Linked DNA regions of Homo sapiens: regions 1, 2, 3 and 4 are each linked to region 5. Evidence: promoter capture Hi-C in human tissues and cell types (Jung and others, 2019). All regions are on one chromosome and are shown on one strand. Each heading gives the region's core, a stretch centred on a gene start or on the middle of the fragment in contact. The rest is flanking DNA. Distances are from core to core; before and after follow the strand shown. Region 1 overlaps MED15 (mediator complex subunit 15). Region 2 has its middle 110 kb from the start of SERPIND1. Region 3 has its middle 88 kb from the start of SERPIND1. Region 4 has its middle 130 kb from the start of MED15. Region 5 holds the start of SCARF2 (scavenger receptor class F member 2).

Region 1 (4,870 bases), core at 1,819-4,318, 150 kb after region 5:
CTGGACATTCTGACAGACCCCTCGAAGCGGTGAGCTTTGCCCACAGCCCACGGAGGGTCCACAAGGGCACAGATAGCCCAGCCATGGATGGGCACTTGGTGATGATGTGGGTTTAACAAAGGCACCAGGCAGCTCTTTGGACCCTGGCCAGAGGCCTCCAAGGCTCCACTCTGGTGTGTGCTGGGGCTTCAAGCCCAGGCTTCATCTTGGCCCATGCCCAGCCTTTGCCCTATTCCTGGCTGCTGCTGTGGCCCTCATGCTGGGCCATCACAGCCAGACCTCATCCAGTCAGCAGCCAGGGGCCCAGCTTGCAGTGGCCTGACCATCAGCTGGCCCAGATGGGCCTGAGCCTGACCTGGAGTTCTGCCCCTGACTTGCTGGTGACCATGGGCAGGCGACTGCATCTCAGTTACCCCATTTGTAGCCCACGTGTGTTGTCATGAAAATGAAACAAGGTGGCGCTGGTGAGAAGCAGGTGGAAGGCAGGGCTGCTGGCCACAGGCTGCTGTGAGGATCAGAGCTCGGGCAGTACCTCCAAACTGCATGGGCATTGGCATATACCTCCCTTTCACCTCAACTCAGGCTATCCCCCAACCCCTGTCTAGAAGGGTCTCTCTGTTCTGCTTGTCTGGATAGAATGCCAGTCACTATTGGGTGGTCCTCCAGGTCTTCATGGGTTGATCCTTTGTTAGGGTTATAGGGATGAGTGGGGCAGGGACTGGCCTACATGACAATGAGGCATTCACAGCCTGATCAGGGGCCTGGCCACTGTCCCTTCTCTTGACCCATCACCTCACTCTGCCAACCAGGGACAAGCAGCTCCTGGGGTTGAGGGCTGCCTGCCTTCAACTCTGGGTCTGGGAACAGCTGGTCAACTGGTAGGAGCTCCTGCAGAGGTTTCTGATGGCTGAGGCCCAGTGGCAGTAGTTGGGATCCTGAGCCTGAGAACTGCCATGTCTTCCACTCTTTCAGCCCAAGTCCTCTCTCTCTGCAGGTGTCCCCTGAAGACCTTGCAAAAGTGTGAGATCGCCCTGGAGAAACTCAAGAATGACATGGCGGTGGTGAGTGGGATGCCAGACACCCCTAGGGGAACCAGGGCTCTCCTAAGAGCTCCTGGGAGTGCTGCTGAGAGGGCCTTCAAGGTCAGGGCATCTGGGCGGGGGCCGGGCCTGACCTTGGACCCTGCCCACGAGGCTTCCTGGCCAGGTCTGCTGTGCTGGGTGGGAACATGGGAGAAGTCACCCTCTGTCTACGGCCCCCGTGGGTGCCTCCTTCACCCATTTCAGAGGAGGCAGGGACTGTAGGGAGGATAGGCTGTGGGGGTGGGGGATTATTCCCAGGATCAGCCAACATTGTCTGCACAAGGGTGGAGGCTGTGAGAGAGGCCTCGGGAATCTGACTGTGAGTGACCATGGGCCTGGGGTGTGAAGGCCCCCTAAATGGGGAACCCTCGGGTCCCGGGCTGCTGACCGTGCCCATCCTGTCTCCAGCCCACTCCCCCACCGCCCCCGGTGCCACCGACCAAACAGCAGTACCTATGCCAGCCGCTCCTGGATGCCGTCCTGGCCAACATCCGCTCACCTGTCTTCAACCATTCCCTGTACCGCACATTCGTTCCAGCCATGACCGCCATTCACGGCCCACCCATCACGTATGTCCAGCTGGGCTGGGCTTTGCGGAGGGCGGCCAGCCCTGGGCCGCGTGTGCCAGGTGTGGTCACCATGCCGCCTCCCCAGGGCCCCAGTGGTGTGCACCCGGAAGCGCAGGCTTGAGGATGATGAGCGGCAGAGCATCCCCAGTGTGCTCCAGGGTGAGGTGGCCAGGCTGGACCCCAAGTTCCTGGTAAACCTGGACCCTTCTCACTGCAGCAACAATGGCACTGTCCACCTGATCTGCAAGCTGGGTGAGTGTCCAGAGGGCCGGGACTGGTGTGGGAAAGCAGGCCCTGACCGCAGCCCCAGGACTCTGCCATCCAAGCCAGATGGCACAGCGCCCAGAACCCACCCTGTGTTCACGCCCCGCCAGGCTGTCTGCTCTATCCTCACACACACCGGGCTCCAGACAGCCTGGCCATGCCTCAGTCCCCACTGCCAGAGCCCGCACACTCTCACCTCCCCAACACAGATGTGGCTTTGCTTGCCTGGGCCCTAGGGAGGTGGTAGGCAGGACCTCTGGGCACCCATCAATGCAGAGCACTCCAGGCTTCACGTTTGGAAATCTGAGAGTCAGAGAGACCTCCTCCAGGCTTTGCCACAAGCTTCACCAGAACCTCCCTGGGTGTGGAGTCCTGTTCCAGAGCAGGGCTGTGAGGCAGGGCAGGCCGGGGCTTGTCCAGGTCACAGATAGAGCCTTCTGTGTTGCAGATGACAAGGACCTCCCAAGTGTGCCACCACTGGAGCTCAGTGTGCCCGCTGACTATCCTGCCCAAAGCCCGCTGTGGATAGACCGGCAGTGGCAGTACGGTAGGTAGACCCAGAGGAGCTGTCTGGGGACCCAGGGCAAGCAGGGGTCATTGTGGAAAACCAGGCTTCCACTGCAGCAGGGACAGCCTCTGTGTGCTCCTGCCCCTCCCCAGCTCAGGCCCCTCCCTCCCCTCTTCTGGCTCCTCCTGCACAGACAGCAGCGGGTTTTCCAGTGGTCGCCTGAGAGAAAAGGGTCTCTGCTCCCACTGTGTCCCTTCGCCCCTTCAACTTGTGTCACGTCAGCTGTCCAGGGTGGTTGTGTTCAGTGGGTGAGGGGTGAGTAAGCCCATGGCTCAGGGACAGTCCCCGCTCTTCCCAGAGGCCACTAGCTTCCCAGAGGCCACTACCTTGGCAGGGCTGCCAGGTTCCACTGGTAGCTTGGGCACACAGGGCCCAATCTGGGTGCTGTGGCTCCAGAGAGAACCACGGTGGCAGGGGGCAGTCTCTGAGCCCAGAGCTGGCACACAGCAGAGCTGGCACACAGCAGAGCTGGCACACAGTAGAGCCAGGCTGGGTCCCCAAGGTTGTTAGAGGCAGAGCCCTAGATCCTGTTCAGATTTGGTTCTCACTGACGATGAGGCTCTGGGAGGAGAGCCCAAAGGCCGGGCAGCGTGCAGGACACATCACCTCCTGGTGCTTCGGCCCGCGCCTGGGGCTACCCCTTCCCAGAGCACTGCCGGGTGTGCCAGGAGCGAGCGCAGCGCCGGCCGCCTTAGGTTCACGCCCACTGCTCTGTTGCAGACGCCAACCCCTTCCTCCAGTCGGTGCACCGCTGCATGACCTCCAGGCTGCTGCAGCTCCCGGACAAGCACTCGGTCACCGCCTTGCTCAACACCTGGGCCCAGAGCGTCCACCAGGCCTGCCTCTCAGCCGCCTAGCCAAGACTGCAGGGATGGCCCGCAGCCTCATCGGGGCCAAGGACACACGCCTCCTGTCAGACACTTCTAGGTGTTGGCTTCCTTAGAGAGCCTGGGGTTAGGTTAGCTTTCCTGCTTTTATCTTCTGCCTTGGGGACCTGCCAAACGAAATCCCACACCTGTACAGAACTGGGATAGGCGCAGTGGAGCGGGTTGCTTGGGGGGCGTTGGCCGACTTCTTAGAGAAGGCCCTCCATGTGACTTCCTCCCAGGAGCCAGATGCGATCCTCAGGCTGCTCTCACCGTGGCCTGTCCACGGTCCAGGTCCATCTCAGCAGCGTGAGGGTGCACTCAGGGTGTTGTTAGAGCGTCTCGTGTGTGCTAGACGCACCCCTACTCGTTCCTATAGAACACAGAGGACATAGGAAACCCTTAAAACACACATGGGATTCTCTGGTCACAGTTTTGGGTTCAGGCTATGCTGCTTTGGGCAGGTGGAGCACCCCCCGAGGAAGCCTGCAAGTCCAGGGCACAGGCTGCCTTTTGGAGGGAGGGCTGGCCCATAGGTGCTGCTGGCTCCCCGCCACCAGCTGGGCCTCAGCCCTCACGGCATTCCTGCTGAGCACCGTGGGGCACCCAGGGAGCAGGGGCGTCAGGGATCCTGCTGCCGGCACCCCTGTGCCGCTGGCATGAGGGCCGTGTCCCCACTGTGAAGGATGAAGAGCAAGGCCCTCAGGACCCGTGTCCTCAGAGCACCACACACTGAGCACCCAGAGACAGCGGGCCTGGCAGCGGGCCGGGCCATGCAGGGAGCGCCTCCCTATGTTGCCTGCCACTCTGGGCACCGGCCAGCACCCTCTGGTGAGAAGAGGTCCCCCCTTTTTATGTGCACTACCCCACCATCTGTGATTATAATAAATTTATTATTCCTGTGTTTGTCAGTTGTTCATCACTGTGTCCCCTTCTCCATGAATCTGGGCTCGCTGTCCTGTCAGGATGCTGTCAGCCTTGGGGCTGCCTGGGGCCTCTGCCTCCCTTCCAGGAGGGACTTGAGGTGCTGCAGCTGAAAGGCAGGGGCAGGGGTGTGGTGGGGCCTGCGGTGGCACCAGGCTGCCCAGGGCCATCCCCACCACCCAGGGCCTCACCTCTTGGGCCTGCAGAAGGTTGGTATTCCACAGCTGGTGGATGACCACTTACACTGCTGAAGTGTGGTGGGCTTTCGCAGGTGTGGGGACAGGATCATCGGGGAGTGCCATCATCTGCCTGTCCCTGTGCTGGCTGCCCACCCAACAGAAAGCCCTGGCGTTAGAGGCCTCTGCTTCCCTGTCTCTGAAAGTCATTACAGTAGCCAGAAATGACCTGCCCAGGTGGGTCTGAGCATCCAGGCAGCATACTTCCCCCAGGCAGTGCCCAGGCCAGTGTGGGGAACAGGGCCTGGCTCCCTTCTCCCACTGACCAGAGTGCTCTGGGTGCCAGATGGGGGTCTCGGACTGGGGTCTGTCCCTTCCTCCCCTCTGAAGGTGCCCTGAGGGTCAGATGTGCTTCAGTGGG
Region 2 (5,146 bases), core at 2,086-4,585, 230 kb after region 5:
TCTCTCTCCTTTCTTCCTTTCTTTTCCTTCCTCTTTCCCTTCCTTCCTGTCTTTATTTGTAGTGAGGTCATTTTCTCTGGTAGTGTGTTTTAATTTCTTGCTTTTTTATTTTTAGGGTGTCTATTACTGATTTTTGTTTTCTGGTCAGCATGAGGCTAAACAACATAATTATAACGAGTTATTTTAAACTGAAGAAAACTTAACCTTGATTGCAAAGAACAAAAAAGAGAGAAACAAAAAAAACTAAAAACATTTACCCTGTAACTCTATCCCCCGCAACACACACACATTTTGTATTTAGATGTCTTTCAGTATTTTTTTTTTTTTTTTTTTTTTTTTTTGAGACGGAGTCTCGCTCTTTGGCCCAGGCCGGAGTGCAGTGGCGCTATCTTGGCTCACCGCACGCTCCGCCTCCCAGGTTCACACCATTCTCAGCCTCCCGAGTAGCTGGGACTACAGGCGCCAGCCAACGCGCCTGGCTAATTTTTTGTATTTTTAGTAGAGATGGGGTTTCACCATGTTAGCCAGGATGGTCTCGATCTCCTGACCTTGTGATCCGCCCGCCTTGGCCTCCCAAAGTGCTGGGATTACAGGCTCAGTATGTTTCTATATTGCCTATCCCTTTAAAAATTGTTGGGTTATATTATTATTTTAACAATTTTGTATTTTAGCCTTCACATGAAAGATATAGGTTGCTTATACATCACAACTATAGTATTCTAAATTTATCTGTGTACTTTTAGTAATGAGATTTATACCTTCAGATGGTTTCTTGTTACATGTTAGCATCATTTTCTTTCAGACTGAACAACTCCCTTTAGCATTTCTTGTAAACCAGGTTTGGTAGTGATGCATTTCCTCAGCTTTTGTCTGGGAAAAGTATTTATCTCTTCTTCATTTTTGAAGGATCTATTCTTTGGGTGTGGTTTTTTTCATTGGTATTGTTTTTCTTAAGCACTTTGAATATGTCATCCCACTTCTCCCATAGGAGGGAGGCCCTCAGCCTGTTTAATTTTTGCTGAGAACTCTGCTTCCTGACATATCAAAGGTCCTCAATATGTTGTTTGATTCACTTCTCTTGCTGTTTATAGTATCCTCTTTGTCCTTGACATTTGGAGTTGGATTATTATATGCCTTGGCATAGTTTTTTTTTTTTTTTCCTTGAGATGGAGTCTCGCTCTTGTTGCCCAGGCTGGAGTACAGTGGCACAGTCTTGGCTCACTGCAACCTCTGCCTCCTGGGTTCAAGCAATCCTCTTGCTCAGCCTCCCAAGTAGCTAGGATTATAGGCACCCACGACCATACTTGGCTAATTTTTGTATTTTTAGTAGAGATGGGGTTGCACCATGTTGGCCAGGGTGGTCTCGAACTCCTGACCTCAAGTGATTCACCTGCCTCGGCCTCCCAAAGTACTTGGGATTACAGGCCTGAGCCACCGCACCTGGCCACTTTGGCGTAGTCTTATTTGGCTTGAATCTGCTTGATGATCTTTGGTCTTCATGTACCTGGATATTTATATATTTCTCTTGAATTGGAAAGCTTTCTGTTACCATCTTTTTGAATAAGCTTTCTACTCTTTCTCTGCTTTCTCTTGAAGACCAATGACTCTTAAATTTGCTCTTCTGATACTATCCCATAGATTTCCTAAGCTGCCTTCATTCTTTTTTTTCTTTTCTTTTTTCTCCTATTGTGTATTTCAAATGGCCTGTGTGAGCTCACTGATTCTTTCTCTGTTGGATCAGTTCTGCTGTTGAGGCCCTCTCATGCATTTTTCAGTGCATCCATTATATTTTTCAGCTTTGAGGTTTTTGTGGTCTTTTAAAATTATTTCAATCTCTTTGTTAAATTTCTTTGATACATTTCCGAATTACTTATATTTTTAAAATTGCATTGATTTTCCTCAAAACAGCTATTTTTTACCTCCCTCTCTGAATAGTTTAACATCTTTATCTCTCCTAGGTTAGTCACTGGTGACTTGTTTATTGTTTGGTGAGGTCATACTTCCCTGAATGTTCTTAATGCATTTGGGCCTATGTTCATGCCTGGGAATTGAATAAGTCAGTATTTATTCCAGTCTTTGTAGTCTGGTCTTGTTTGTACCTGTCCTCCTCTAGATGGTCTTCCAGAAATTCCAAGGGTACTGACTATTGAGTTCCCTAAGGCTGGGGTCACTGAAGCTGTTTCAGCACCAGGGTGCCCTAAGCTCAGGTTCACTGTGACTCTTGCAGGACTGAGGTCCCAGAGGGCCCTGATGGACTTGGAGAAGATAAGGGAGGGGTTCCCTGGGTTCCCAGGCAAAGTGCTTCATTCACTTCCCTCTTCTTCCCATTGGAAGGAGTCTGGGTACTAAGCTTTGTGGATCTGGGAGAAGGGTGGCTTGGGCACTCCCATGGCCACTGCAGCTGGCACCACATACCCGAAGCCCACAGCCTCTAGGACCAGAGCAGCACTGGGGCTTGTCTGAGTCCTGTGGCCACTACTGCCTGACTGCTGCTGACTTATGTAGGTCTTGAGGCCGAGCTACTCTGCTGGTGGTGAAGCTGGCCAGGGTTTAGGTCCATCCCGCCAGGGCAGCAGGTTCTCTTCTACCTCCAGGCAGGTCTAGAGGTGTCTGGGAGCTCCTGCCTGGGATCAGGGCCACTGTGTTCTGCCTGATGCTGTGTCCACCGTGGTGGAGCCTGGACTGGGTTCTCCTCTTTCCTGCATAGGAAAGGAGTTCTCCCGGCACTGCACTGCCTGGAGTTGGGATTAGGGTAACACAGGCAGCCCTGTGGCCACTGTAGCGGATGTCATATATGAAACCCACAGCCTCCCAGACCAGCACATCATTGGTTGCTGGGGCTCACCCAAGGACCACAGTGGCTATGGCCTGCCTGCCACTGAAATTTATTCAGAGCCTGAGGCCACTTTAAACAGCTGGTGGTGAAGGAAGTCAGGACTCAGGTTTGTCCCACCGGGCAGTGGATTCCCTTCTAGCCCAGGTCATGTCTAAATGCTCTGTCTGTGGGCACCGGCCTGGAATCAAGGACCATGGGGTTCTGCCCAGTGCTGTGTTTTACTGTAGCAGAGCTGGTACTGGGCTCCAAGGCAAAGTTTAATGCACACTCTCTTCTCCCTCCTGGAAGTGGACACATTGTCTCTCTGCACTGCCTGGGGTTGAGGGAGGGATGGTATAGGCACTGCAAGACTGTCTTTTCCACCCTGTTTAATGTGTCTTTTCTTGTTTTTAAGCTAAAACCAGGTTCTGTGATCTGTCACCTGATTTCTTTGGCTCTTGTGAAGGTATTCTCTTGCTTAGATTGTTGGTGGTTCAATTTGATGTTCCTGCAGGGAGACAATCTTGTAGAGTTCTATTCTGCCATCTCGCTCCACCACTTCTCATTTATTTAATTGTTCTTCAACTTATTTCAACAATATTTTGCAGGTTTCAAAGTATGAATTTTGCACTGCTCTTGTTAATTTCTAAATTTATTACTTGTTTTGTTGGTATTATACATGGGTTTGTTTCCTTAATACCATTTTAAAGCAGTTTATTGATAGTATATAGAAATAAAATTAAATTTTTAGTATTGCATTTATATCTTGAAACTACGTCAAATTTATTTCTAATAGTATTTTACTGAATTTCTTAGAATTATATATGAGATCGTGCCATGTGTAAATATAAAAAAATTATTTTCTTTTCAATAAGGATGTTTTAAATTTTCCGTTCTTTACTACACCTCGCTACAATCTACAATATAATGTTGAATAGAATTTGCAAGAGTGGACATTCTTGTAACTGATTAGTCATTCACCCTCTCATTGCTGAGTATAATGATAGCTGTAAGTTTCATAGGTAACTACCACTAGTTTCAGGAAGTTACCTTATTGTTCGTAAATTTGGAGTGTTTTGTTTTTTTTTTGTTGTTTTTTTTTTTTTTTGGAGACAGAGTTTCACTCTTTTTGCCCAGGCTGGAGTGGTACAATGGCGAGGTCTTGGCTCACTGCAACCTCCGCCTCCCAGGTTCAAGCGATTCTCCTGCCTCAGCCTCCCAAGTAGCTGGGATTACAGGCGCCTGCCACCATGTCTGGCTGAGTTTTTGTATTTTTAGTAGAGACGGGGTTTCACCATGTTGGCTAGGATGGTCTCAGTCTCTTGACCTCGTGATTGCGCCCGCCTCAGCCTCCCAAAGTGCTGGGATTACAGTTGTGAGCCACCGCTCCCAGCCTGGAGTGTTTTTATTATTAGAATGTGTGATATTTTCTCAAATGCTTTCTGTCTGAGATGCTTATATATTTTTGTCTTTTATTCTGTTAATATGGTGTTTGCATGCAATGATTTTCAAATATTAAATCAATGGTGCATTCCTGGGGTAAATCACATCTGCGTATAGTGCATAATCTATTTTATATGTTTCTGGATTCAGTTTGGCAATATTTTGTTGAAGACTTTTGATTTTATAAAACAATGTGCTGGGCGTGGCGGCTCACGCCTGTATAATCCCAGCACTTTGGGAGGCCTAGGTGGGTAGATCACCTGAGGTCAGGAGTTCGAGACCAGCCTGGCCAACATGGTGAAACCCTGTCTCTACTAAAAATACAAAAATTAGCCATGCATGGTGGTGCACGCCTGTAATCCCAGCTACTTGGGAGGCTGAGGCAGGAGAATCGCTTGAACCTGGAAGGTAGAGGTCGCAGTGGGTTGAGATTGCACCACTACACTCCAGCCTGGATGACAGAGTGAGACTCTGTCACACACACACAAAATGAAAGATACTGTTCTATATTGTTTTGTGATACAGTTTTGGTGTCAGTAATCCTGGCTTTATAAAATGAATTGGGAAGTGTTCTCTCCCCTTTTATTTTCTGCAAGAGTTGGTGAACAATTGATATTAATTTCTCAGTGTGTTTGATAGATTTTGCCTGGGAAGCTACTTGAGATTTTTATTGTAAGTTTTTAAAATTACAATCCAATCTTTTTACCTTCTGTAGATCTATTTCGATTTTCTATTTCTCCTTAGTCCTTTCATCTATTTTAGTTTGTGTCTTTCTAGGAATTCATCCATTCTATCTAGGCTATCTGATTTTTTTAACATAAGATTTTCACTGCATTGTCTTGTATTTTTATTTTGTAATACTGGCAGTGATGGGTTTTCTTTTATTGC
Region 3 (5,417 bases), core at 1-2,500, 250 kb after region 5:
GAAACCTCAGTGGATAGGGAGCATCATGCCCAGACCTCCACTTATCCTCTCTCAGCCAATGAAGAACCCAGGCAGGTGCCCCAGGTGAGATCCCATGGAACCAGCAGTCTGGAGTTCTTGTGGGGACATATGTCTTCATTTCTTTCAAGTATATACCTAGGAATGGAATTAATGGGTTATATGGTAATTCTATGATTAAGCTTTTGAGGAACTGTCAGACAAGCCATGTGATTGATTGATTGATTTTTAAAGACAGGGTCTTATTGTATTGCCCCAGCTGGTCTCCAACTCCTGAGCTCAAGCAATCCTCCTACCTCAGCCTCTGAATGGCTGGGGCTACAGGCACGTGCCACTGCACCCAGCTGCCATGTGATTTTTTTCTTCCCAATTTTCTCACTGAACATTAATCATGTGTATTTTCATGAATGGTTAAGTGTTCTTTGAGCATGTGGCTTTTAACATTTGCTTTTAACATTTAACATATCCAAATTTTAGTTGGCCAATCCCCTGTTATTGGGGACACTTCCAATTTTCATTATGATAAACAGCATTTCCATGGGCATCTTTTTTTTTTTTTGAGACAGAGTTTTGCTCTTGTTGCCCAGGCTAGAGTGCAATGGTGAGAACTGCAGCCTCCACCTCCAGGATTCAAGTAATTCTCCTGCCTCAGCCTCCTGAGTAGCGGGGATTACAGGTGTGCGCCATCATGCCTGGCTAATTTTGTATTTTTAGTACAGCTGGGGTTTCACCATGTTCGTCAGGCTGGTCTCAAACTCCTGACCTCAAGGGATCCAGCCACCTAGGCCTCCAAAAGGGCTGGGATTACAGGTGTGAGCCACTGCATCCAGCCCCATGAGCATCTTTAGGCATCAATCTTTTATGCATCTCTGGTTATTTCTCTAGAGCACATTAGTCAAATGATTGTATCAAAGGGCACAGGCAGTTTTGAGGCTCTCAGTGCATGATGATAAATTGCCTTCCAAAAAGGCTGTGCCCGTTTGCATTCTCAAAAGTAGAGTGTACACCCCTCCTTATATTTTAATAGTTTCCTGAGGTCACCAGAACATGAACATGGGGAGGGCAGGGACTTGCTTGGGCATCTTGGATACCATGCCCAGTTCAATGTGCAGTACTTAGTAGGGGTTTGTGTGACAGGAATGAGTGAGAGCACATGAAGGCCCAGATGAGTGCAGGGTCCGTGGGGCACAGAGGAGGGTACAGGTGTGTGAGCACCGTGAAGGCCAGCTCCATAGGACTTAGCACACGGCTGACGTGGGGACTCAGTGCAGACACAAGTGGTAACAAAGCAGAATGGTGCAGACTGTGGCAAGTTGAGAACTTATGCCTCTGTAAAGGGGGCAGCCACCACTCAGTTACTGCAGATTACTCTATCTTTGCTGAGGACAGTTGCACAGGTAGTGCACTGCAGAAGGGTAACACCTTAGAGGGATGTCATTTGCATCATAGATGCAAAATTCACAGGCAAAGACTGATGTAGTTTGTCCCTAAAGTTTTGCTTTGATTTGCAGATATTTATCCATGGCAGTTTCGTGAAAAACGTCTATAGAAGGTTTTGAGGAATGGGCACCTTTTAATTTGCTACTAAACTAAACCCCAAGGGCCCATTATATGCCAGCGTGGTCCTAGAGATTCCACACTCATTCAGTTCCTTTTCATCATAGGAAGTGGGCATTATAATATCAGGTCCACTATAAGAGCTGGAGGCTGGGCATGGTGGCTCATGCCTGTAATCCCAGCACTTTGGGAGGCCTACCTGGGCAGATCGCGGGAGCCCAAGAGTTTGAGACCAGGCTGGACAACACGGTGAAACTCTGCCTTTACAACACATACAAAAAGTTTAGCCGGGCTTGGTGGCATGGCCCTATAGTCCCAGCTATTCGGGAGGCTGAGGTGGGAGGATCGCTTGAGCCTCGGAGGTCAAGGCTGCAGTGAGCCCAGATTGCACAACTATACTCCAGCTTAGGCCACAGAGCAAGACCTTGTCTCAAAAAATAAAATAAAATAATAAAAAGAAAGAAAGAGAAAGGAACAGATCAATAGGTACAATAAAGTAATATTTGTATAAAAAAAGCAAAAGAACATATTTATTTATTTGGATATTTGTTTATATTCATAAACTATCTCTAGAAAGATACCAAGAAATTGAATCTATTTGGTTGTATCTGAGAAACTGCAGGAATAGGGACAGGGTTGAGATGATGCCTTCTGAATTTTGAAATATACAAATGTATTTTCTACTTAGAAATAAATGGGCCGGGCGTGGTGGCTAGGCCGGGTGCGGTGGCTCTCGCCTGTAATCCTGGCACTTTGGGAGGCCGAGACTGGCAGATCACTTGAGGTCAGGAGTTTGAGACCAGCCTTGCCAACATGGTGAAACTCCGTCTCTACTAAAAATATGAAAATGGCCAGGTGCGGTGGCTCACCCTTGTAATCCCAGCACTTTGGGAGGCTGAGGCGGGCGGATCACCTGAGGTCAGGAGTTCAAGAACAGCGTGACCAACATGGAGAAACCCCATCTCTACTAAAAATATAAAATTAGCCTGGTGTAGTGGCGCATGCCTGTCATCCCAGCCACTCAGGAGGCTGAGGCAGGAGAATTGCTTGAACCCGGGAGGTGGAGGTTGTGCTGAGCTGAGATTGCGCCATTGTACTCCAGCCTGGGCAACAACAGCGAAACTTTGTCTCACAAAAAGAAACAACAACAACAACCACAAACACACACAAAAATTAGCTGGGTGTGGTGGTGGGTGCCTATAATCCCAGCTACTCAGGAGGCTGAGGCACGAGAATTGCTTGAACCTGAGAGGCGGAGGTCGCAGTGAGCCAAGATCAGGCCACTGCACTCCAGCCTGGGCAATAGAGCAAGACTCAATCTCTAAATAAATATATAAAATAAATAAATAATATTAAGACAAAACTCATAAGGACATTACATAAACCAAGTTATGCCAGTGATTTTTTTAAAATATCAAAACAGGCAGTTTTATAGAAAAATATAACTTCAGGCCAGGTGGGGTGGCTAATGCTTGTAATCCCAGCACTTTGGGAGGCCGAGGTTGGCAGATCACCTGACCTCAGGAGTTCGAGACCAGCCTGGCAAGCATAGTAAAACCCCAACTCTACTAAAAATACAAAAATTAGCTGGGTGTGGTAGAACATGCTTGTAACCCCAGCTACTTGGGAGGCTGAGGCGGGAGAATCACTTGAACCTGGGAGGCGGAGGTTGCAGTGAGCCGAGATCGCGTGACTGCAACAGAGAAATTCTGTCTCAAAAGAAAAATATAACTTCATAAAAACAAAGTAGGGAGAAGCAGAAAAGTTTGTCTAGATCTAGAACCATTAAAGGAATTGAATGTTTATTTTAAAATCTGTATCCCGGCCGGGTGCGGTGGCTCACGCCTGTAATCCCAGCACTCTGGGAGGCCGAGGTGGGCGGATCACAAGGTCAGGAGATCGAGACCATCCTGGCTAACACGGTGAAACCCCATCTCTACTAAAAATACAAAAAATTAGCCGGCCCTGGTGGCGGGTGCCTGTAGTCCCAGCTACTCCAGAGGCTGAGGCAGGAGAACGGCGTGAACCCGGGAGGCGGAGGTGGCAGTGAGCCGAGGTGGTGCCACTGCACTCCAGCCTGGGCAACAGAGCAAGACTCCGTCTCAAAAAAAAAAAAAAATCTGTATCCCATCCCCTCAAAAATCTCACAAAAAAACAAAACCAAAGAAAAGCACCAGGCCCAGATGATTTTATGGACAGCAAACATTAAAAAGAACATAAAGTTTTTATCTTCTACATAATTTTTAAAAATTAATTATTTATTTTTGACAGGAAGTCTCGCTTTGTAGCCCAGGCTGGAGTGCAGTGGCGCGATCTCGGCACACCGCAACCTCCGCCTCCCGGGTTCAAGTGATTCTCCTGCCTCAGCCACACCAGTAGCTGGGACTACAGCCGCGTGCCACCATGTCTGGTTAATTTTTGTATTTTAGTAGAGACAGGGTTTCACTATGTTGGCCAGGCTGGTCTCCAACTCCTGATCTCGTGATCCGCCCGCCCCAATCTCCCAAAGTGCTGGGATGTGTGAGCCGCCACGCCTGGCCACTACTTTTTCTTTTCTTTGTGTGTTTTTTTTTTTTTTTTTTTTTTTTTGGTGTGTGTGTGTGTGAGATGGAGTTTCCCTCTTGTTGCCCAGGCTAGAGTGCAATGGTGCGATCTCAGTTCACTGCAATCCCCGCCTCAGCAGGAGAGCAGGAATCTTCAGTGATCCACTGGCGGATCTGCAGCCATTGTGCGCGCCAGGTCTTCCCAAGTCTTTTGTGCGCGCGCCTCTCCTTCCAGTACCTATCAAGCCAGCGTCCCCTAGCCTCCCGCCATTGCCAGCAGGTGCTGAGATCGCGCCATTGCACTCCAGCCTGGGAGACAACAGCGAAACTCCGTCTCAAAATTAAAAAAAAAAGGATGAAAATTTTGGAAAAATATGGAAGAAACCAAATGGATTTCTAGCTCAACTAAATCGTAATTATTCAGTGTCTAGTTTTTGCAAGAAACCATATATTTCATGTCCACAATCGGCCACAGTCCCAGCTCTCAAGTGTAGGTCTTTCCTAAGCAAATTGAAGAACACAGGCATAAAAGTGCATTAAGTCAATAAACATTTTTCTCTGTGTCTCTCTCTCTCTTTTTTTTTTTTTTTTTTTGAGACGGAGGTTCGCACTGTCACCCAGGCTGGAGTGCAGTGGTGAGATCTCGGGTGACTGCAAGCTCCGCCTCCCGAGTTCACGCCATTCTCCTGCCTCAGCCTCCAGAGTAGCTGGGACTACAGGCGCCCGCCACCACGCCCGGCTAATTTTTTGTAGTTTTAGTAGAGACGGGGTTTCGCTATGTTGGCCAGGCTGGTCTCCAACTCCTGACCTCGTGATCCACCCGCCTCCGCCTCCCAAAGTGCCACAGCCCCGGCCTTTTTTTTTTTAAGACAGAGTCTCGGCCGGGCGCGGTGGCTCACGCCTTTAATCCCAGCACTTTGGGAGGCCGAGGCGGGCGGATCACGAGGTCAGGAGGTCGAGGCCATCCTGGCTAACACGGTGAAACCCCGTCTCTACTAAAAATACAAAAAAGCAGCCGGGTGTGGTGGCGGGCGCCTGTAGTCCGAGCTACTCCCGAGGCTGAGGCAGGAGAATGGCGTGAACCCGGTAGGCGGAGCTTGCGGTGAGCCCAGAGATCAGGCCACTGGAATCCAGCCTGGGCGACAGAGGGAGACTCCGTCTCAAAAAAAAAAAAAGAAAAAAAAAAAAGACTCTGACTCTGTTGCCCAGGTTGGAGTGCAGTGGCGCGATCTCGGCGCATCGCAATCCCTTCCCAGCCCCCGGGTTCAAGTGATTCTCCAGTCTCAGCCGCCGGAGTAG
Region 4 (5,403 bases), core at 1,792-4,291, 200 kb after region 5:
ACCTTCAAATTCATGAGCTGTTAAATTTGGGGCCCACCTCGATTCTTCACCTGCCAGCAGGTTCACAGGTGTAAGAAAAATCGGAGGAAGGCAAGAAGGAAACACACACAAAAGGCTTGCAGGAGGCTCAGGACACTTGCCAAAGATAGGCTCTAAGCTCCCCAGGAACCAGAGCAAGAAGGGTAACAGGAGCTCCATCATTTCTATGAGATTTAACAAAGCCTTTGCTTGAGGGAAGTTGGTGTTTTCAATGCTGAGGCCAGGCATCTCCTCAGAACTAACAGTGGGGATGTGTTTTTTGTCTGTTTGTTTTGTTTCGTTTTGTTTTGAGACGGAGTCTCACTCTGTCGCCCAGGCTGGAGTGCACTGGTGCAATCTCGGCTCACTGCAAGCTCCGCCTCCCAGGTTCACGCCATTCTCCTGCCTCAGCCTCCCGAGTAGCTGGGACCACAGGCGCCCACCACCATGTCCGGCTAATTTTTTGTATTTTTTTTTAGTAGAGGTGGGGTTTCACCGTGTTAGCCAGGATGGTCTTGATCTCTTGACCTCGTGATCTGCCCACCTTGGCCTCCCAAAGTGCTGGGATTACAGGTGTGAACCACCACTCCAGGCAGTGGGGATGTGTTTTACCCAATCCCTTAGTATTGATTGGATTTGGGCTCCGACACCTGCACAGGTGACTGCCTGGCAGCCCCAGAACACGGAGATGTTCTCAAGTGTGTGGCACAGAAAGTCACTGGCTGCCTTTGGGGGGCATTCTTTTTGGGAAACACCTCTCCATTGGATCCTGGGCCTCAGGTGGAAAACCAGGTCCTGCCTCGGGACTTTCTCTGTGAGGCTCCCTGGGTCTGGGGCTCCAGCCATTCTCCGAGAGGAAGGTGCCAGGAGAGAGAGCAAGGCCCAGCCCCACCTAGTCTTTCCTGCATGGTCCCTGCTCTGGTAGAGACAGGGTTTGGCCTGGCTGGGTTCCACACCTGCTGAAGGATGCACAGATGGTAGATGCCCAGTCTGACCCTGGGTCTACCCAGGGCTAACCCCCTTCCCTGAGGCCAGACTGAGGAGGCTGAGCCTGCCCAGGTCCTGCAGGTGTTCAGGGCAGCACAGACAGTGGGTGCCCAGGCCCCTGACCCAAGGTCACCCTTCCCTCTTGAGGCTGTGCTAGGCAGGGCCAGGAGACAGTACTGAACACACCAATCCCCTTGTGGCTCTGTGGGGTTGGGGACCTACACTCCTCAGTCTACATCGAGCCGGTGTAGGAGACAGGCAGAAGCAGGAGGGTCCTCGGAGTCCACAAAGCAGAGCAGGGGCAGGTGCTCGTGTGCCCATTTCACCGAAGAGAGAACTGAGGCTCCACGGGAAGGGAAGTGACCTGCCCGGGTCAACATGGTGAGCTGCTGCCTGACCCACCCCCAGCCTCTTTCCACAGCTCCTCAGTCCTTCATTCATTCACTCACACACTCATTCAGCAAACCCTCAGTGAGCACAGCTGTGGGCCAGGTGCTGGTGCAAGACCAGGACCACCTGCCCTGGAGAAGCTCATGAGCTGGAGGACAACAGGGAGACACCACTGCACCCCCCTGTCCTCAAGTCCCCAAGGTTGGAGCTTGGCCCAGGGAGCGCCTGGGGCAGCAGGGGCATCTCCCCCTACTTAGCAGAAGATTTAACTGAAAGAACCATCTGACGGAGCCCCAGCTGTCATCCCTGGGCCACAGTGGGAACATCACAGTCCCTCATCAACCCTCACAGTGACCCTGAGGCCCAGGGCAGCCATGGTCCACCTCACATAGGGCAGGCCGACCATGAGGAATGCACCACGGTTGCCTCATAGCGACCCTGAGCTCTAGAGCTGCCATTGCCCACCTTATAGAGGGGATGCTGACCAGGAGGGAGGCACCAACCAGGGCCACCCAGGCTCCGGCCAGCCTGAGAGTGGCCCAGCTGGCCCTGTGCCTGCACTGCCCTGCACCTGCTGCCCTGCCCAGCTCAGACCCTGGTCATATCCTCAGGAGTGATGGCCCCACAGCACCAGGGCAGGGTAGGTCCACACTGGGAGAGCCCCTAAAGGTACAGAGAAGAGCACTGGAGTCCAGGGAGGAGGGATTGTCCCGGCCCTGGTCCTGCCTCGCTGTGACCAGGGCTGAGGCATTTGCTCTAAATCAGATGGGGGAGGGGCATCTGTGGCTTCCTCTACAGCCAAAACCAGAGCCCCAAATAGCCCCGGTGGGTATGGAGGGGCCTTGGGGGAGGGGAGGAAATGGGAGGGGAGGTGGCTGCTTGGGGCTCTGGGTGAGGGCTAGGAGCTCCTACTGAGCTAAGCGGATGACTCTCCTATCTGACCTGGCCCCCCATGGGGCCTGCAAAAGCACCAAGAGAGCATCCCCAGCCAGGCCTGTGGAGGGGCCCTTGACCCCTCATACTCACTGAGCCCAGTGGTGGGAAGAGGGGGCTGGTCCCCGGCCAGTATTCTCCTGAGGACACCGACACTCACTGGTAACAAGCAAACCAGACCCAGATGCTCCAAAAAGAGGCCACTGGATCCCAGCAAGCACCCACTCCCCCCAACACGAAGGTCCAAAACCAAGCTTCAGCCAACTAGAATGTGGGAACTTCCCGGGAGGTAGAGGAAACAAGTCACTGTCCACTTGCAATGCCCACCGGTTAGTGACGCAGCACAATGACAGTCACACCTCTCAGAGGGGGCTCTCCCTCGACTCTCCTTCCTGACACATCAACAAGGACAGCCTTACCAAGGGCCACACCTGGGCAGTCACCATGGGGTTCGTGGTCTCACGTGGGCCCTGCTTAAAGCCCCTGGGGATAAGCTCACTCCAGCTCATGAGAGGCCGGGGGTGACCCTGACCCCATTTTCCGATCAGCGATAGCACAGCACATGTGGGGACCAATGAGAAATGAGTCTGGGGAGACCACGGGCTTCAGGGAGAATGTTTCGATGAGGCAAGTACAAGAGCCAGTGAGGGACTGGGTGACTTCTGTGGCCTGTGTCACAGAGCTGGGGCCATCAGATGCCCCATGTCCACTCTGAGGACAGAGTAGCCCATGGTTAGGATGACCCACCAGCCAGGCCTGGCCAGGGCACCCACAGGAGACAGGAAGGCTGTGAGGGCCCGGGGGCACGGAGCAGCTCTGAAAGGAAGGGGTGCTGGGTCCCGGGGCTCCTGGGCAGAGTGGTTGAAGAAGGTGAGACCCCAGACCAGCCAGATGGGCCCACTTCTCAGGGGACCCTGGTCAGACAAGGGAGCACCTCCTGCTCATGGAACACAGCAAGGGGCAAGGTAGGCACAGCCAGGCTCGGAGAACTCGTATTTGGGGGAGATGTAAATCAACCCAATAGACAAGGGAGCGATGTGGTGTAGGAGATGGGGTTTGTGCTGGGGAGAAATAAGGCAGAGAGTGGGGAGTAGAGAGCACCTGTCTGGGGTCTCAGGAGGAGCGATGTCCCAAGACTGGAGGCGGCCAGGGGCTGAGGAGCCCTGACTGGGCCAGGCCTGTGGCTGGAGCTGGAGGCTCGGGTTCAGCCTCAGTTTCCCCTCTGTGAAGCTAGGTTCATAATAATGGAAATTGACTTTCTGGGTGGCTGGAGAGACATTCAGATGGAAAATGGATATTCTATTTTGTCTCTGTCCTTGGTTGTTGTCATCTCAGGCTGTTCCAGCCCCAGTTAGCCTCGGGTCAGCCCCCTGCCCATGTTGGTCTCCCCATGAGCTCAGGCACCTCATCCCCAGCACAGCTGGCCTGGAGAAACCAAGATTCCCTGAGGCTTAAAATAGCTGGAAAGCCAGCCCAGCTGCAGGTGCCTCCCTGTAGGATAAAATGTAGGAGAAGATCTTCAGGAGCTAGGACTAGGCAAAATTTTCTTAGACTTGACACCAAAAACATAGTCTACAAAAGGAAAAATTGCTAAGCTAAGTTTCATCAAAATTTAAAAATTTGTTCTGCAAAACACCTTGTTAAAAAGATGACAAGTTACAGACTAGGAGAAAATATTTTCAAACAACATATATGAACAAAGCACTGTTATCTTGAGTATATAAGGAACTTGCAAACTCCACACAAAAAATCAAACAATCCAATTAGAAGATGGGCAAAAGACACGAGCAGACATTTCACCAGAGATGATACACAATGGACAAATAAGCCCATGAAAAGATCTTCAACTTCACTAGCCATTTGGGAAATGCAAATTAAAACCACAATGAAATATAATTTACACACATCAGAGTGGCTAAAATAAAAAATAGTGACAAGACAAAACTCTGCTGAAGATATAAGTGTGAATCACTCATATATTGCTGGTGGGCATATAAAATACCACAGCCACTGCAAAAGTGTGGCAGTCTCTTTTTTCTCTTTAGAGACAGGGTCTCCCTATATTGCCCAGGCTGGACTCAAATTCCTGGGCTAAAGTGATCCTCTCGCCTCAGCCTCCAGAGTAGCTGGGACTAAAGGCACATGCTACTGTTGATGTTTGGCAGTTTCTTATACGACTGAACATGGAACTACCGTATGACCTAGCAATTACATTCTGACTCATCTATCCCAGAGAAATGACAACCTGTGCTCATACAAACAACCGTACGTGAATGTTCATTACAGCTTTAATAGCAATAGCCAAAAATCTAGAAATAACTCAGCCATCCATCAGCAGGTGAACAGTTAAACTGTGCTACATCCATCTTATGGAATAGCACTCAGCCATCCAAAGGAATCAACTCTTGATACACTCAACCAGCTCAACCCTCCCCAGAACGCACCTGGGTGGGAAGGTGCACAGCAGATTGGGCCACTAGATTTACCCAGTGTGGAGGAAACAGGTACCTCCTCCTAGATTTTGTTCTTGGCAGAGATAAACCAGTGCTTCTCAGTCATTTTTGCTTTTTACTAGCCATGGGAGGTATTTTCCAGTAAAGGCTTCTATGACCAAATGCATTTGAAGGAATGTTCCATATGCTCTCCCACACGCCTTCAATTTCCTGAGAGTGACAAGAATACCAGAATAGCCAAGGTTCTAAGATATCCTTCAGGATACCTGTTTAACTTAAACTTCCCCAAACTATTTGATTATGAGACTCTTTTCAAGCATAAACATTTTCCTTCCAGGAACATTTGTATTCTTATAAGAAAATATTAGAAAGCATTCCAGGTGACTTACCTAATGGGAGAACCTCAGGCGCCAAGCCAGATGAGATAAAAGTTTCAAATAGTGCTGATAAGGTTTTCTTGGTTCAGCTGCCTCCCTCCAACTCAGCTGCTGTCACACTTCTAGGCAGTTTTGACTGGACTGTAAATTCCTTCTGGCTGGGGCCATGTCTCAGCACCTTGTGCAGGAGTGATACAAACTAATGCTTCATAATAAATACTTACTCACTGACTTTCTCTTTATTC
Region 5 (4,703 bases), core at 1,760-4,259:
TACCTGTCCATGTTCTCCCCCAAATCCAGGCAGAAAAGCTTCTCTGCCTGCCACACCCTTCAGACCCCACACCAGCCCGACCCTCCTGCTGCCCCGCCTGGACACCTCTCCTCTGGTTTCTGTCCCCATCCTCAGATCTCTCTTGTGTCCACACTAGCTCCCTCGGGAAGCTCACTGAACACTGACAACACCTTGGACCCTCCAGCAGGGCTCTCCCCATCAATGCTAGACTTGCAAATCCAACTGCCCAATAGATGATGTCACCAGAAGGAGACCTCATGGGCCTCATGCCCAACCAGCCCAAACCTGAACTCTTGACCTCCTTGCACCCTGAGTCTTCCCTGCCTCAGATAACCCTGCCTGTCCTTTCAGGCTGGGAAGCTGAGACCTGGAGAAGCATCTCTGACTCTTCTTTCTTGTCTACACCAGATCCATTGAGAAAAAAGACGCTGAGCTCTAGCTTCTAAACGATATCTAAAATGGGATCACTTCCTCCTTCCCTATCCCAGCCTTGTGAGAGCCACCCTCCATCTCCCTGGCTTTTTGTAACTGGCCCCAGCTTCCACCCCCTGCCCCCCAGGGTGCGAAGTGTTTGCCACCTGGCAGCCAATCCTGGTCAGATCCCACCCTTTCTCTGTACAAAGCCCCCAGGGGGTCCCATGGCCCTCAGAAGAAAAGCCCAAGTCTTCTGAGCAGTGGCAGCCCACGGTGGCCTGCCCACCCTCACTCTCTGGCAGCTCCTCCGCCAGCCCCTCCTGGACTCTGCCCAGCCTCCTGGATCCTTCCTGTACTTCCACAGGCCCTCTGCCTTGGGAACCTTGCCCCAGACACCCACAGGGCCTCCGTGCTCTTCTGCAGGCCTGTGCTCACTCACCACCTTCTCAGCCGTTCTCCTCAGAACACCCTAAAGGAAACAGCACTCCCCAACCCAACACCTCCCAGCTCTTGCTAGATGTCTAGACACACTTGCTTTTCTGGACTGTGTCTCCTCTGCCACAGGGTCAGGGTCTCCACTGCAGCTTCCCTACACCAATACAGGCCTGGCACAGTGTAGGTGCATAGGATTTTACTGGCTTTGCACTCTCCTCTCCCCATCCTCCTGCCTCCCAGGAAAGGGAAGGGCTGATGGAAGCCTTGCAAGATGTGGGAGGACAACAAAGACATGACCCAGACCCCAGGTGGGCAGTGCCCAGAGTGGCTGTCCTTCCCATCGACCCTTGCCACTCATGACCACAGCGATCTCCACTTAGCCCCATGAGGGGGTTGTGATCACTATCCCATTTTACAGAGGTGGAGACAGGCCCAGAGAGGTCAAATGACTTGCCCAGGTCCACACAGCTGGGTAGGGTGGCACCAGGATGGGAACCCAAACCCAGGCTCGGTTCCTGGAGCAGGCGCCTCCTGGGAGGTCTGCAGACCAGGGGAGCGGGAGCAAAGGGCTCTCAGGCTCCGGACAGCTAGAGCCTGGCACCGGACCCCCATTCCTGGTCCCGGGCCTGTCTGGGAAAGAGGGCTGGAGTGAGTAGACAGAGACCACGGCGATCGCGCCCTCCCCCTCTCCAGGCACCGCCCCGCCCGCCGCCGCCGCTGCATTCCTGGGGCCGGGGAGGCCCGGGAGTCCGCGGCGGCGGCATCGATGCGAAGCAGATGGCGGGCCAGGCCGGCCCCCGCCCCGGAGGCGGGGCTCGCAGCGGGGAGGGGTCTGCGCGCCTCCGGACCAGAGTTCGGAAACCCCGCGCTGCCCCCTCGCAGCCCCTTGTCTCTGGCGCCGAGCCCCTGGACTCGGCTTGCCCCGGGTCCGTGGCTCAGGCGCCCCGACGCGACCCAGCTCGGAGCCCGGCGGCCGCCTCTGCGGCTGCCAGCCCGTGCGGCGTCTCCAATCCGCGCCAAGGCGCCCCCACACGCCCGCTCCTCACCCCTGCGTGGAGATGCCCTTGACCTTGTGGCCTTTGGCCAGCCCACCGGCTCCCCCGACCCCAGCTCCTAACTCCTGGCGTCCGGGGCTCACCTCTCTGCCCTCCGTGCAAACTCCCGGACTCGCCCCCCCACCGGCCGGGCCTGTCGCCTGCCTGTCCCACACTGGCTTCCCCAGCCGGCGCCCCACATTTGCGCGGCCCCTTCTTGCACCCAGAATCCCCACCTGGTTGTCGCCAGGGTTCCCACATCCTCCGGTCCCCTGTGCCTGTCATAGTCCTTCCGCCTCCCGCTTCTGGTCCACTTCGAGCGCCGGCTCCTCGACGCTCGCCTGGGTCACCACCCTCCCACCCGCGCCCGCTCTAAGACGCGAATCTGTCTTTCCAAGTCTGGCTTGCTCCAGGACCTCCCCGGCTAGCACCGCTCCTCCTCCCCTGACCTTCCTCCTCACTCCCACTCCCGGCTCCAGTCGGACTAGTGCGGGGCTTTAGCACATGCAGTTCCTTTGGCTTGAATGCCCTTCCCCAGCTTTTCCCCGTGGACTTCACAACTCGGTCAAGGGTCCCTTTTTCCAGGTCTTTCCTGATATCCCGGACAACGCGTGTCATCCCCTGGGTGCCCACGGCACTCCATCCTCCCCTCAGGTGACTTCTCGTCCAGGGTTCCCTGGGATGCACTGTCGTGGCCCATGGCCGAGGCTGGGCCTGGAACGGAGCCGCGCTGGCTAGGGAGCCGAAGGGGCCCACACTTGGCGTAGGAAGGTTCCGGTAGCCCCCTCCCAATGCCCGGCGCCGCCACACCACTGCCCAGAGCGTCCCTCTCGCCCCCTCCCCCAGCCAGGCCGGCTCCTACCCGGGAGCACGGCACACGTTGCGGCCGCGAGGGTTCAGTTCCTGAGGCGCCACGGTGTCCGGCAGCATCCAGAGCAGCAGCAGCAGCAGCAGCGACGGCAGCAGCGGTGACGGCGGCCCCCCGGCTCCCCGGCGCCGCGCCGGCCCGGCCCCCCGGGGCCCTGCGCCCTCCATGAGGCGCGGGGCAGGCGCGGGGCGGGCACGGGCGCGGGTGCGGCCGCAGCGAGAGCGGCCGGAAGCGGAGTGCGAGGCCGGGCGGGGGGCGGCAGGAGGGGCGCCGAGCCGGGCAGGAAATTCCACATCGGCTCCCTGATCCCGGGCCAGCCGCGGCCGGCCAGGCGGCAGCGCCCGCCCCGCGCTCCAGACCCCACCCTCCGGCCTAGCCACCGCCCCTCCGCGCAGCCCCCGCCCCCATTTGGCCGCTCGCAAACTTGGGGGCGAACTTGGAGGAGGCCCGCCGAGCGCTGGTGGAGGGAGGGTCCGCCCGAGGAATCCCCGGTTCCCGCGCCTTTCCCTCCGCTCCCTAGACATCTACCGAAGCAGCCGCCCCTGCGCGCCCACTGCGTAGGCCAGGCCCGGGACGGGAAGGCGGATCGGGGACACGGACGCGACTCCGCAAGCCCACCCCCGCTCCCAGCGCCTCGGAACCGGCCAAGGGAGTGGGGCCCGCAGACAGCCCAGGTCGAGGCCGAAAGCCAACTCCACAGCACCCCACCGCGAAGTCCTTGTAGTGCTGGGGTGTGCGGTCAGCTCCCCCTGCGCACTCCTGCGCACTCAGAGCTCGCAAGGGGCGGACCGAGCAGGATGCTTGAGGCCTGTGGTAGACTCGGTCCGGACCAGAGGCCTGGGGGAAGGGGTCTCCGTAGGGACGGATGGGAGAGATACAGAGGAAGTAGAATGGCCAGGCTGTGGACTGCGGTAGGAAGTAGAGGTAAAGACAGAAGGAGACCCCCGGGATGGAAACCCTGCAGTCCTAGTTGAGGAGTGAAGGGGGCTGGGGGAGCCTGGGCGGTGGATTCTGCTGGCTGTCGGATTTCCAGGAGAGGCTGGGGCTAGAGAGTGGGAACTCCTGCATCAGGTAAGGTGGGTAACAGCACAGAGCAGAAGGAAGGTGTGGGAAGGGAGCAAGACAGAGGGACAGGCCCTAGGGAGCCAGCGGGGAAGCTGGACTTGGACTGGGAGGCAGCAGGGTGCGGGTCCCCGGGGGGCAACTGGGGCAGACCGACTCTGGAAGTTGGGCAGGGAGCACAAATGTCCCGTGTGTAGCCAGGTCCTAGTGAGGATGTTTGTCTTTTGGGGACTTGAGAGCTGGCAGAAGGCCTAAGCAGGGAGCGGGCACCTCCGTTCTTTGGGGAGCAGGCCACATGCGGCCCACAGGCTCACTGAGGGAGGGCAGGCAGACTCTGTCCAGGTGTGGCCAGATAGCCCCGAAGGGTGGGGCTGGAGGAGGGGGCTTGGAGGAGGAGCCACTGAAAGGCCCAAGGCCATGGGCATCACCAGGCTGGCACAGGCAGAGAGTGGGATGGGGAGGAGCAGGCCCCTCACTCAGCCATGCTGGTGCAGGAGGGAGGTGGGGTGGGCTGAAAGAGAAGTGGAACTAGTGTGGACACGAATGCAACTACCTGGGGACAAATAAACAGGCCAACCACTTCTGGGCAGCTCAGCCTGGGCACAGCCCTGACCTCAGCAATGCCCTCCCAGTGCTGGGGCCCCTCCCACGGAGGATCCGGATTGCGGCTCCCAATAGAGGCCAGCAGAGGTCCCAGTGGCTGCAAGGTCTGTCCCAGCCCAGCTCCTGGCTTTAGAGGCACTGACCCCCTGGGCTGGAGGGGACACTCACCTCAGCTGGATGGAGGTCATGAATAGGCATATCAAATTCCATCACCTTTCTCCTTCCCCCAGACCTGTCCAGGGAGGGCACCACCTGGATGGTGCCCC

What was found. Contacts are between HindIII fragments. The study calls those that stand out against the background at their distance.
Region 1: a contact is called between a fragment that was not itself captured here and the fragment with the promoter of SCARF2 in region 5, in 1 of the 25 tissues and cell types used here (dorsolateral prefrontal cortex).
Region 2: a fragment that was not itself captured here is called in contact with the fragment with the promoter of SCARF2 in region 5 in 6 of the 25 tissues and cell types used here (IMR-90 fibroblasts, bladder, dorsolateral prefrontal cortex and 3 more).
Region 3: a contact is called between a fragment that was not itself captured here and the fragment with the promoter of SCARF2 in region 5, in 4 of the 25 tissues and cell types used here (dorsolateral prefrontal cortex, heart right ventricle, mesenchymal stem cells and 1 more).
Region 4: a fragment that was not itself captured here is called in contact with the fragment with the promoter of SCARF2 in region 5 in 4 of the 25 tissues and cell types used here (IMR-90 fibroblasts, bladder, lymphoblastoid cells and 1 more).

What each region holds. Positions count from the first base shown.
Region 1 is chr22:20,583,365-20,588,234 of GRCh38, forward strand. It overlaps MED15 (mediator complex subunit 15), which reads left to right. Exons shown (of 18, transcript NM_001003891.3): 13 at 1-29; 14 at 995-1,061; 15 at 1,491-1,651; 16 at 1,737-1,903; 17 at 2,364-2,462; 18 at 3,204-4,255. The coding sequence ends at 3,340. LOC124905084 (a long non-coding RNA gene) reads right to left here. Exons shown (of 3, transcript XR_007068013.1): 2 at 4,465-4,597; 3 at 4,224-4,382. Among named protein-coding and RNA genes, the nearest start is that of MED15, 78 kb to the left of the region's middle. The HindIII fragment of the contact is 9,714 bases long and covers 1-4,870 here.
Region 2 is chr22:20,661,611-20,666,756 of GRCh38, forward strand. No RefSeq gene overlaps it. Among named protein-coding and RNA genes, the nearest start is that of SERPIND1, 110 kb to the right of the region's middle. The HindIII fragment of the contact is 5,707 bases long and covers 483-5,146 here.
Region 3 is chr22:20,683,618-20,689,034 of GRCh38, forward strand. No RefSeq gene overlaps it. Among named protein-coding and RNA genes, the nearest start is that of SERPIND1, 88 kb to the right of the region's middle. RefSeq lists a silencer at 3,325-3,545. The HindIII fragment of the contact is 7,577 bases long and covers 1-5,039 here.
Region 4 is chr22:20,633,441-20,638,843 of GRCh38, forward strand. No RefSeq gene overlaps it. Among named protein-coding and RNA genes, the nearest start is that of MED15, 130 kb to the left of the region's middle. RefSeq lists an enhancer at 459-1,201. The HindIII fragment of the contact is 6,289 bases long and covers 1-5,403 here.
Region 5 is chr22:20,434,816-20,439,518 of GRCh38, forward strand. It overlaps SCARF2 (scavenger receptor class F member 2), which reads right to left and starts at 3,010. Exons shown (of 11, transcript NM_182895.5): 1 at 2,767-3,010. The coding sequence starts at 2,939. LOC107985588 (a long non-coding RNA gene) reads left to right here and starts at 3,181. Exons shown (of 2, transcript XR_001755623.2): 1 at 3,181-3,696. The HindIII fragment of the contact is 17,878 bases long and covers 1-4,703 here.